Regions from separate parts of the Homo sapiens genome. Here region 1 is linked to region 2. The links are contacts of gene promoters, found by promoter capture Hi-C in blood cells and fetal thymus (Javierre and others, 2016). All regions are on one chromosome and are shown on one strand. The core of a region is centred on a gene start or on the middle of the fragment in contact, and the rest is flanking DNA. Distances in the headings are between cores, read along the strand shown. Region 1 overlaps KIF13A (kinesin family member 13A). Region 2 holds the start of KIF13A (kinesin family member 13A).

The links. Contacts are between HindIII fragments. The CHiCAGO score rates a contact against its expected background, and 5 or more counts as called.
Region 1: a fragment that was not itself captured here is called in contact with the fragment with the promoter of KIF13A in region 2 in 3 of 17 cell types (neutrophils, monocytes and megakaryocytes); the score reaches 8.8 in neutrophils.

What each region holds. Positions count from the first base shown.
Region 1 is chr6:17,872,415-17,878,262 of GRCh38, reverse strand. KIF13A (kinesin family member 13A) reads left to right here. Exons shown (of 39, transcript NM_022113.6): 4 at 4,826-4,886. Among named protein-coding and RNA genes, the nearest start is that of KIF13A, 110 kb to the left of the region's middle. The HindIII fragment of the contact is 4,568 bases long and covers 535-5,102 here.
Region 2 is chr6:17,983,391-17,989,789 of GRCh38, reverse strand. KIF13A (kinesin family member 13A) reads left to right here and starts at 2,155. Exons shown (of 39, transcript NM_022113.6): 1 at 2,155-2,381; 2 at 2,646-2,736. The coding sequence starts at 2,327. RefSeq lists silencers at 1,580-2,079, 2,450-2,569. The HindIII fragment of the contact is 11,131 bases long and covers 1-6,399 here.

The sequences.
Region 1 (5,848 bases), core at 1,569-4,068, 110 kb after region 2:
CCTGCTATTCCATCTGGCTGTCATGCTTTTCCACAGGCTTTCATAGGACCTGCTCCAGTTTTTTCCAGTGCCCCCTTGCTGTTACATTTTTGTGTCACTGATTACCTCCTGGCGTCATATGTGTTTATTGGTTGCTTGCATATTGCTTCTCTCCCTTCACCTCACTGGGAGCTTCATAAGGGACATGAATAATATAAGTATTACTACAGATAATGCAAGTAATAGGATACTCATGAGCTCCACGAGTCTTTGCATGTTTTTTGACTGCTATAATTCTAGCGCTTAGCACACAATAGGTACTCAATAAATATTTGTGAATGGATAAGTGAATTAATGAATTAGATGGCTACTACTAGGCCTGATTTGTAGTCATGCTCAGTAAATACTGACTGCAAATTTTTTTAGTGCAGAAACCAGAAGTTATTGAAAGCAGCACAGAATGAGGTTGAAAACCAAAGGTTCTTGGTGGGAGGATTTTTTTTTTCTTAATATTTAGGATGACGCATGTCACTGAAATTCACCATGGATCAAGCTTGGGCACAGTGCCCGGGATATAAGAAGGAGAGCGGTAAAGATACTTCAAAAAAAACAAAAAGAAAAGAAAAGAAAGGAAAATAGCCTCTATTGGCTGTTTAAAGTAAGGAGAGTTGACTTAGGTCAAAAGAAAAGGGAAATGTCCTGGAAATAAAAGTTAAGTATTATAAGATGCCATTAAAGGGAGTTTGTGGAATCTCCTTTTCTGGAGATGTTTAAAAACAAGATAGATCATCATCTCTTAGAAGTGTTGAAGTTCAGTCCTACCCAGAGGCAGGAAGATTAACTGGATTACGCCTGTGTGGTCGGTCTCTAGAGTCATTGGAAGAGCCCTTGAATGCAGTAAATATTCCACATTCTCTTGGCTGAAACTATTGTTTCATAACTGTTCATTTGAAACTTGGTTATTATAAAACCAGAGTGAATGTTTGTTTAAGTAACAAAATTGAATTTGGATCTCGGGTTGATGATGTAAGTTGAGTACATCATATATACCTAAATCAGTTTTAAAAACATTAAAATAAAGTATATATAGTGCTGAAACTATTCAGAACATAACTTAGTCTTTTTTTTTTTTTTTTTTTGGCAAGAGAGAGAGAACATTGCGTATAACTTACTAGTCTTTTATAATGTAAAAAAATGCCTGTTTCCCTGCGAGATCTTAATGCCATTAAGTACATCAATAAGTAATTATAAAGTGACTACTATAAACATTGCAGGCTTCAAAGATGAATTCGATATGGATCCTGCTTTCAGGGAACTTAGTCTACAAGTGGAGATGAAACATATATACAGGCCGGGCACAGTGGCTCATGCCTGTAATCCCAGCACTTTGGGAAGCCAAGGTGGGAGGATTGCTTGAACCCAAGAGTTTGATACCAGTCTGGGCAACATGGCGAAGTCCCATCTCTACAAAAAACACAAAAATTAGTTGGGCATGGTGGCATGTGCCTGTAGTCCCAGCTACTCAGGAGGCTGAGGAGGTAGGATCAATTGAGCTGATTGAGGCTGCAGTGAGCCATGATAGTGCCAGTGCACTCCAGTCTGGGCAACAGAGGGAGACCCTGTCTCTGAATGAATGAATGAATGAATGAATGAATGAATGCTGTCTCACACACACAGATCATATACATGATAAATGAAAAATAAAATAATTGAGATAGGAGCCATAAAAAAGGACTAAACAGTGTTGTAAGGTTTCAGAGAAAGAAAAGATGATTCCTTTGGATTTAACCAAGAATGCTTCTGGGAGGAAAAATGTATCGAACTGGGCCTTAAGGGGTATGACGTATTTTGAAGGGTGGAAATGAAGGAGAGAACAAGGACAGAGATGAAATTATACTTAGTAATTCTGAGGTAAGGACAAGTTCCACTGGAGCATGAGGAATTTGGGGTTAATAGGCTGGGAGGGCCTATTGTGGCTAGTCTCAAATGCCAGGCCAAAGAGCATGGGTTCTGTATGCTCAGTGCTTAAGATCTCTTGGAAGTGATTAAGCATTAAAGGATCCTGCCCATGGGAGGTTTGTAATTTGCTGTTTGGACTGCAAGAGATAAAGGGCAATAGCAGTGAGCCCAGGAAGGTAGCTGCTGAGTCACCTGGGCTGCATTTGCTAAGGGATATGCTGAGAAGTAGTAGTTCCAAGGCATGTTAATAAGTGTTAGTCCAAAAAGGGTCTCCTCACCAAAATGAATTGGGGAAATAAAATGTTAAACAATCAAATAGGCTTCTTTCCTGGACTTCATTTCTGAAAAGTCTCTGGAAGACTTTTTAGAGCCTTTAATATTGAGAATTTCATTGAGAATCTCAAATAGGATAAAACGTGCACCACTTCCAACATGATTTGGTCTTTTTTCATGGAGTAGCTCATGAAACTCTGGTTCCTTAGAACACACTTTGGGGAACATTGCTCTACACATTTGATAATAACAGCTGGAACACAAGTGGTGGTAATGGGCATGAAAAACAGCAGTTAGGGCCAGGCATGGTGGCTCACGCCTGTAATCTCAGCACTTTGGGAGGCTGAGGCAGGCAGATCATTTGAGGTCAGGAGTTTGAGTCCACCCTGGCCAACATGGTGAGACCTCGTCTCTACTAAAAATACAAAAATTAGCTGGGCATAGTGGTGCGTGCCTGTAGTCCCAGCTACTTGGGAGGCTGAGGCAGGAGAATTGCTTGAACCCAGGAGGCAGAGGCTGCAGTGAGCTGAGATCATGCCACTGCACTGCAGCCTGGGTGACAGAGTGAGACTCTGTCTCAAAAAAAAAAAAAAAAGGAAAAGAAAAAACAGCAGTTTGATGGGAGTCCTTACAGGGGAAGCACCAAGAAGCACCAGCCATTCCCGGTATATAGTAGGCATTCAGTAGCTATACAGAAAGTTAATTCATGTAAAAGTGAATTAATGATTTCATACCAGTAGATGTTGGTGTGGATGCGGTCAACAGGGAACACTTTTACATTGCTAGTGGAAATGTAAACTAGTACAACCACTATGGAAAACAGTGTGGAGATTCCTTAAAGAACTAAAAGTAGAACTACCATCTGATCCAACAATCCCACTCCTGGGTATCTATCCAGAGGAAAATAAGTCATTATACGAAAAAGATACTTGCACATGCATGTTTATAGTGGCACAGTTCACAATCGCAAAATCGTGGAACCAACCCAAATGTCCATCAGTCAACAAGTGGATAAAGGAACCATGCTGTGTGTGTGTGTGTGTGTGTGCGTGCGTGTGCGTGTGTGTGTGTGTGGTGGAATACTACTTAGCCATAAAAAGGAATGAATTAACGGCATTTGCAGCGACCTGCATGAGATTGGAGACTATTGTTCTAAATGAAGTAATTCAGGAATGGAAAACCAAACGTTGTATGTCCTCACTGATATGTGGGAGCTAAGCTATGAGGACAGAAAGGCATAAGAATGATACAGGGGAGTTTGGGGATTTGAGGGGAAGAGTGGGAGAGGGGCGAGGGATAAAAGACTACAAATATGATGCAGTGTACACTGCTCAGGTGATGGGTGCACCAAAATCTCACAAATCACCACTAAAGAACTAACTCATGTAACCAAATACCACCTGTACCCCAATAACTTATAGAAAAATAAAAAAAGATAAAACATGAAATTAGCCAGGCATGGTGGCGAGCACCTGTAGTCCCAGCTACCCAGGAGGCTGAAGGCAGGAGAATTACTTGAGCCCGGGAGGCAGAGGTTGCGGTGAGCCGAGATCGCACCACTGCACTCCAGCCTGGGCAACAAAGCGAGACTCCAACTCAAAAAAAATTAAAATTTAAAAAATATGAAGAGATACTTTTACATGTAAAAGACATGCCAAATACTAAACATGTAAAATTGCTAAACATGTAAAGTTGCTTCACATCTTTACTTTTCGAGGAATTGTATATTAAAAATACAGTAAGAACCCCCCCCACCACCACCAAAAAACAAAAACAAAAACAAAAACATGCTTTGCTGGAGATTGCCTGCAGAGACAGAAGGGGAAAGGAGTGCAGGATGGGAATATGGAGAGTTTTGAACTTCAGTATGCTACAGATGATATCATGGAAAGCTAGGAGAAGGAACTGCTTTATATGAAAGTTGAGTATTGAGAAGCTGAGGGAGATCGACCTGGAAGGTTCCATGGTTGCTGAAACCATGGACTTGCGAGAGAAGATATTGTTTTTGTTTTTTGTGTTTTCTCATCAGATGTATTGTGGAAAAAAATATCTCGTTAAAATGTCTGGTTATTTGAATTCTAGATAAATAGTAATTTTCATATACAACTTATTCTAATACAGAAAGCTAACCATATATTTAGTCTAAAAGAAATATCATAGGGCCAGGCGCGATGGCTCACACCTATAATCCCAGTACATTTTGGGAGGCAGAAGAGAGAGGATTACTTGAGGCCAGGAGTTCGAGACCAGCCTGAGCAATAGGGCAAGACCTCCTGTCTGCAACAATTTTTTTTTTAATTGCTCGATATGGTGGCATGCACTGGTGGTCCTAGCTACTCAGGAGGCTGAAGCAGGAGGATCCCTTGAGCCCAGGAGTTTGAGGCTTCAGTGAGCTGTGATAGTTCAACTGCACTCCAGCCTGGATGACCCTGTCCCCCAAAAAAGAGGAAAATAAGAAATTTTATGGTTAACAAAAGCACCAAACCTATAGTGATTTTTTTCAGTCAGACAGTAGTGGCCATCCTTCTCATCTTCACCTGTGATTTATTTTAGTCTGATTTACTCATAAGAAGTTAATTAATCTTTAAGTTTAATATTTTGTTCTTTCATTCAGGTATTTGCCTTTGATTATTGCTTTTGGTCCATGGATGAATCTAACACTACAAAATACGCTGGTAAGTTTTCTCCCTCTACACCTGACAGTTGGGCTTCTGGCCTCTTCTTCCATTGAGTTTATTTTCTTTAATTCCTCTGGAGTTTTACTTTCCCTGTGTAATTCACACCTGTTCTTTCCAATTATACCACATGAGTTTTGAAGTCAATAAGATTTGGTTTCAGAATCTGGGTCTGCCACTTACTTGTAAAATCCTTGAACAGATTTTTATTAAGCTTCAAATTGTTCACCTGACCTCCTTGTGGTATTTTATCCTCATTCCATCCAACACAAATGACTGCTGTTTTATAATTTATGACCATAGGCTTTCCTAGGAGTCAGTCACAATTGCTTTAGTTCCAGAGGGAAGCATTTGGTTTGGTGGAGGAAGTTTTTGGTTCTTTTGCTTCTGATTATGCCCCCTTTTTCTTAGATATTTCATCTTTTTAAAAATTTATTTTTCGTCCGGGCATGGTGGCTCACATCTGTAATCCCAGCACTTTGGGAGGCCGAGGTGGGCGGATCACTTGAGGTCAGGAGTTCAAGACCAGCTTGAATAACATAGCAAAACCCCGTCTCTACTAAACATACAAAACTTATTCAGGTGTGGTGGTGGGCGCCTGTAATCCCAGCTACTTGGGAGGCTGAGGCGGGAGAATGCCTTGAGCCCAGGAGGCAGAGGTTGCAGTGAGCCGAGGTCCCACCACAGCCTAGGTGACCGAGTGAGACTCTGTCTCAAAAAAATAAAAAAAAATTATTTTTCTAACTGGCAAATGAAAGTTGCATATATTTATCATGTACAGTGTGATGTTTTGAAATATGTATATATTATGGAATGGCTAAATTGAGCTAATTAACACATGCTTTACCTCATGAACTTATCCTTTTTTGTGGTAAGAACACTTAAAGTCTACTCAGTTAGCAATTTTCAGGAATACAGTACGTTGTTATTAACTATAGTCACCGTGTTGTACAATAGAGCTC
Region 2 (6,399 bases), core at 906-3,405:
TTCTCCATGTTGGTCAGGCTGGTCTCGGACTCCCGACCTCAGGTGATCTGCCAGCCTCGGCCTCCCAAAGTGCTGGGATTACAGGCGTGAGCCACCGTGCCCAGCCTGAGAGTTTTTTGAACAATAGAATACCATGCACGATTAAAGGATAAAATTTTAATTTTGTGAAAAATCAGTCTGGAAGCTGGATTTAGGAGTGATTAGAGGAGGCAAAGCTAGGAGGGTTAACAGGATGTCTCAGCAGCCCAAAAGTGAAGAGGTAAGCACAGACCTAGATTCTTAGCCTCAGAGGGCTGGAAATTTCACCTCTTTCTGAGCAGCAGCTGAGAGCCTGTAGCCTAAAGCCTACAACAGTGTTTGTAACATAGTAGGGCGCTCAGAACACATTTGTTGAACAAGTGAATGGACAGGTAAAGTGAGATTGCAGCAGCAGGAATGGAGAGGAGGAAAGATGCAACAGGCCCTTCAGAGGTAGACTGAGATAGCTGGCTCTACAATAAGGTGGGGCTGAAGTATTTGTCCTTCAGTGTACACAGGGGACTGGTTCCAGGAACATCCAAAACCATGCATACTCAAGTCCCACAGTCAGCTCTGCAGAACCCACAAATAGGAAAAGTTGGATCTCTCAGTTTTGAACCTGCCAAATACTGTCTTTTCTTTTTTCTCCCTTTTTTTTTTTGAGACAGGGTCTTGCTTTGTTGCCTAGGCTGGAGTGCAGTGGTGCGAACATGGCTCACTGCAGCCTCAACCTTCCAGGCTCAAGTGATCCTCCCACCTCAGCCTCTCCAGTAACTAAGACTACAGGCACCTGCCACCATGCCCGGCTATTTTTTAAATTTTTATGTTTGGCAAGATGGGGTTTCTTTACATTGCCCAGGCTGGTCTCGAACTCCTGGCCTCAAGTGATCCTCCCGCCTCGGCCTCCCAAAGTGTTGGGATTACAGGCGTAAGGCACTGTGCCAGAGCACGAATACTGTATTTTCAATCAGATTTTGGTTGAAAAAAAGCCACGTGTAAGTGGACTCGTGCAGTTCAAACCCGTGTTGTTCGAGGGTCAAGCGTAGCATCACCTCGGTTGGAGGCGGACGGACCCCTCTCCTAGCACCTGCCGTACACTGTCTAGCATAATAAGTCTCCACGCCCTCTCTTCCACCTTAGCGTGTGCCTCTGCATCATGCTATTCATGTTTCTGTGTGTCCTCAACAGCACCCTGCACACAGTAAAACCTCAATGCATCTTCCAATAAGTGGATTTCTAGATTTAAGCAAAATCGAAAGATTCCTGGATCTAAACTCTGGATTTTTGACTTCTGTACGCTTCAAAATGCCTGGCACTCGGTGAGCGCCCCTTAAGCACTTGTTGAACCAAACAGAATAAATCGGATTCGCCCAGTTCCGCCCTGGCAGCGAGGTCTGCATTTGGCAGGATGACAGAATCCATTGCTATTAAATTCTTATGTAAGAGTTAATGGCCCTCCCAGCCCACTTGACATCCCTCCCGAGACAAGAGAGGCCGGGAAAGGAAGGGAGAGCACTATTTACAAACATACACTGTTTCGGTGGTGGATTCACAGATTCATTTCTAGTCTCGGTTCACCACAGAGATCTTAAAATACCGCTGCAGGCTCCGTGTGGGACAGAGGGGGCGGCGTGCCGGGACTCGGAGGGGAAGGCCTGCGCACCCAGCGCGGCGAGCCGTGGTCCTTGCTGCCGTCCCGGGGCTCCGGGTGGCAGCGGCCCCAGAAGGCGGCTCGAGCTCACGGCGGTGTCCGGGGGGGGGCCCCGCGGGCGCCGGTGCAGGCTTGGCCTGGGAGGTCCCCTGGGGAAACAATGCGTCCCGCCCCGGACTCCAGCCTCCCCTAAGCGCCGCGCTGCTCGCCGCTCCTCTCACTGCCGTCCCGCCGCTCCAGGGGGCGCCGCGCGTGGCCGTGTCCGGCCTCTCCCGAGCCCCGGCGGGTGACGGGCGCGGAACATGGCGGCGCGGGGCCCCGGGCAGCCGCGAGGGGCCGCGGCGCTGCGGTCTCGGCTGGGGCGGCGCGGCTAGAGCTGCGCCTGGGCCCGCCGGCGAGGCCTCCTCCCCGCCCGCCGCCGCCGCCGCCGCCGCCGCGCCCCGCCCCGCGCGCCCGCCCCTCCCCGGGCCGCGGCCGTGCCCCGCGTCGCGCTCCCCCGGGATGGCCCGCGCGCCTCGGCGCTGCCTCTCGGAGCTCACGGCGGAGCGGCGGCGGCCGCGCTCGAGGGGCGCGCGGCTGCAGCGGCGGCGGCGCCGCGCGTGAGGGGCCGCCTAAGGCCGAGCGGGCGCGGCGAGCGGCCGGGCGAGCGCAGCCAACATGTCGGATACCAAGGTAAAAGTTGCCGTCCGGGTCCGGCCCATGAACCGACGAGGTGAGGAGCTTTCCGCTCTTTTTTATTTCTGCTCGGGCTGAGGGCGGGGGCAACTTTAGAAACTGCGGGGCCGGGACGGCGAGAGCGCGGCCGGGGCCGGGGGGCCGGGGCGGAGGCGGCGTCCGCGCTGGCCGTGGTGCCCGGGGCGCCGTCTCCAGGCTCGGCCGCCTCCAGGGACGGAGCCCCGCTCGGCGCGGCTGGCGGGCGGGCGGGCTGGAGGCGCGGATGCTGGACTTTGCAACGTCCCTTTCTCTCTGCTTTCAGAACTGGAACTGAACACCAAGTGCGTGGTGGAGATGGAAGGGAATCAAACGGTCCTGCACCCTCCTCCTTCTAACACCAAACAGGGAGAAAGGTAAAGCGGGTTCCGAGAGGGCGGCTGGGAGGATCCAGCCTCGCGGGGTCCCGCAAGTTTGAGCCAGGAAAATGGGAGTGCTCTTTCCTATTGTTAGGAGGACGGCTTCAAGTTTGTCGCCGGCTCCTGTTTGAAGCTGTTGCAAGTCCAAGTTCCTCTCCTCCCTCGCCCCCCTTCTCCTCCATCTAGAGCGGCGGCAGGCAGGGCACCCTGGCCACAGCACCAGTCAGCTGAGCCCGGGCGGGCTGCGAGGCACCCGGGAGGGAGAGGGCCGGATGGGACCCCATAGGTGATTCGTCCAGCGGCCACATTTTACAGACAGGAAAACTGAGGCCCGAGGCGGGCAGGTGACCAGCCCACGACCTTATTGTTCGTGGAACCCAGTGTCCGTGATTCTTTTCATCACTGCAGGGTTTGTTTCCTTTGGCAGAATTGTTTAGGGACAGTGTGTCTAAAATGGGAGGAAAAAATAAAGCAAAAGTCTTGTACGATGTAGACTCAGGCTGGACTAGTTAGTATCTATTTTAGTTGTTGTTGCTGAGTTGAGATAATGCCTCAATGTAATGCGCGAATTTTGATTTTCAAAGAAACAAAAGTAGGGCCCTGAACTGTATAGACACTGAGGGATGTTTAAAAAGGGGCTGTATTTACTAGATGGCAACATATTTGCATTTGAAAAGTGGTAACTGTTGGATCCTTATTAATTCCGTTCTGTTCCATGCAACAGTATGGGTTAACGCCCCAAAATAATTTGAATATTTGGCATTTTTCTAGTAAGCCTCTGAGAAGAAATCGGTTGGAATTCATTCAATATAATAATGCAGTAGCTTGTAAATATATATATGTGAAAAAACGGGAGAGTTTACAATATTAATTTTCATTGGAAATGAATATGAGTTTGTGTTTCCACGAATCACCTGTTGATCGATGGAATACAATTTAGTGAATTTCCTTCTTCAGAGATTTTCACTGAAGAGAGACTCTGAAGCAGGGTTTGTGACATTATTGCTTAGAGAAGCAATGCCTCCATTCTATAATGTGTGGTGTTCAAGCTCAGTTTTGCCAAATTTGGGGAAAGAAATCATGAGGCGATAAGATTGGGGATTCTTTGCTTTTCGTGTTGAGCATAGCAGTTTTTATCCAGTTTGCAAACATTCTGCTACCTTTAGCAGATTCTGGTGGTGATATTAAATAGCTAAGCTATATGTAAAATGTTGTGTTTAACACTGAATGTAGTGTTTATTGTACATTGTACTGAATGTTGTCTAGTAATGGATGTATTTTTAGATGCATTTATAGCAGTGTAGATAGTATAGCATATTTCATGGTGATAGTAAGTAAACTCATTGAGTACATTAAATATTTACAGATTAAATTAGATGCCCATATCACCAACGAATGTCCCCTCCCCCCACCCCCCCGCAAACTGCATATTGTTTCGGGAAAAAATTCTGTTGGGTCAGATTCTTGAAAGCAGTCTGGGGGAACAGGTAGAATACTTTTTAGCTCCTGTTGTGTAGCCGTTACTTGTTTTCCTTGCTGGCTTGGCACCTGCTCCTTGTCACTCTTAACCATAAGCAGTGCGACTGTTAGCTACTGTTTAATGACATGAAGTGTTGTCATTTGTGAAGAGAAACAGATTTGATTTTGTGGGATTTGGTACAATCTATAACTGTGGACAGTTGGTTCCAAATGCTAAGTAATCAGTTGATCATTTTTCGGGCTGAACCACGTTAGTTACTAATCAGGATCTTTTAGGTAAAGATTTGAAGGGTGATTTTGGGATCTATTCATCTGCTTACTTACGATAGTCCCTTATCTGGAGTTATAAAAATAGCATTGAAATATGGGTACTCTCGTGTTTTGTCCTTCTGACGGATCTAATTCTTTGAATAGCAGATGAGCTTTCTGTGGGATTCTGTCTTGAGTACCGGTCATTTCATTTACAGACAAACTGAGTAGTCAACAAAACAGTGCTCCTTGTACATTAGGATTACTGTCTTTGCACAGATGAAGACACCAAATGCATTTTTATTTTCATTATGCAGCTTGGTTTCATATTTCTCCACAGACTTTTCCCTTAAAGTAACAGTGCATTTAAAAATAGAAACAATTCCTCCCTTGGGCTCTGGGTTGATTAATTGCAGCAGTGCTTCATGCTATGTTTGCAATTCATTTCTGTCATTGGTTTTTAGATAGTGCTCAGGGCAGGGCAAAGGTGAAGAGTAGAATACTGAGAATGTTATTATTTTTCATATCTGCAAGTCCAAGGTTTGAAGTGTAAGAGGTCTTTAAATGCATATTGGCAAACCTGTGTCAAATTGAGAATTACTGTTTTTCTGAAAGTTGCAAGAAATTACCAATGAATTAGCCATGGATAGAAATTGAAGGTTAGTGGGTGAAAGTTTTCAGTCTTACCAGTAAAAACAAGTGAGAATGCATTGACGTCCAGGGAAAAAAAAAAAAAACAGATGGGGTCAGCTTTCATTGTTTCCCCATTTTACAAAACCAAAGCCAAGACTGTGTAGCTAGGACTAAAAGATCAGAGGATCTCTGAGGTTAAAGATGTTTGTTTTGTTGCTGAAATTCTAGTATTGTAATACATTGCATAGGTCCAGGTTAGTAGTTGATATGTATACTGATCACCATTCTGAAACATTAAGACACATGGATTTGTTTCTTAAAATACCATTGCATTGCTCTCCAGGAGACATTTATGAAGTTCAGATCATTTCAGTACCATGCTCAGCATAGGGGATTCAAAGATACTTGTGGATCCAGTACCTACACCAGAGTCACTCACCTTGGAGAGAAGGAGGAGAGAGAGGAAAAAGTAGTTAAAATACAACGTGGTAAATTACGCTGGTGTATACTTTTGCCATTTCATGAACCACATAATTTCAAAATTCTCTGTTTCCTCTTTCTCTCCCTGGAGGCTGTGAACTGCTTGAAGGCAGGTAGGTACCTTATCCTACTTCTCTTTGTACCTCATGCTCCTGCATACTGGCACTTAGCAAGGGCTTAGCAAATGTGATGGGAGCATTGAGGAGGGGCTGTGGATGCTACCCAAGGTCCTGTCAACTTGCCAAGACAGGTGGTGTTTGTGTGGTCTTATGGATGCTGAGAGCATAGGTTCACTTTTGCAAGACGAGGAGAGAGTCCTTTGCCAATGAAAGTGAAAGCATACCTGCAACACATTGCTTCTGGGTGCTTGTATGTGTGTGAGGTGAGGGGGTGGAGTACCATTCAGAAGCAAGGTAGTTCTGGGCTGGGTGAGGTAGCTCACACCTGTAATCCCAGCACTTTGGGAGGCTAGGGTGGGCGGATCTCTTGAGGCCAGGAGTTTGAGACCACCCTGGCCAACACGATGAAACCCTGTCTCTCCTAAAAATATAAAAATTAGCCGAGTGGTACATACCTATAATCCCAGTTGCCTAGGAGCCTAAGGCAGGAGAATCGCCTGAGCCTTGGCGATGGAGGTTGCCGTGAGCTGAGATCGTGCTACTGCACTCTCGCCTGGGCAACGGAGTGAGACTGCATCTCAAAAAAAAAAAAAAAAGCAGCAGCAGCAAGACAGTTTTGGGGGTGGGGTGGGTGTGGGTGAAGGGATGGAGTGGGGTGAAGGGAGCAATGGAATGAGAATCCCTAACTTGCTAAAAAGGG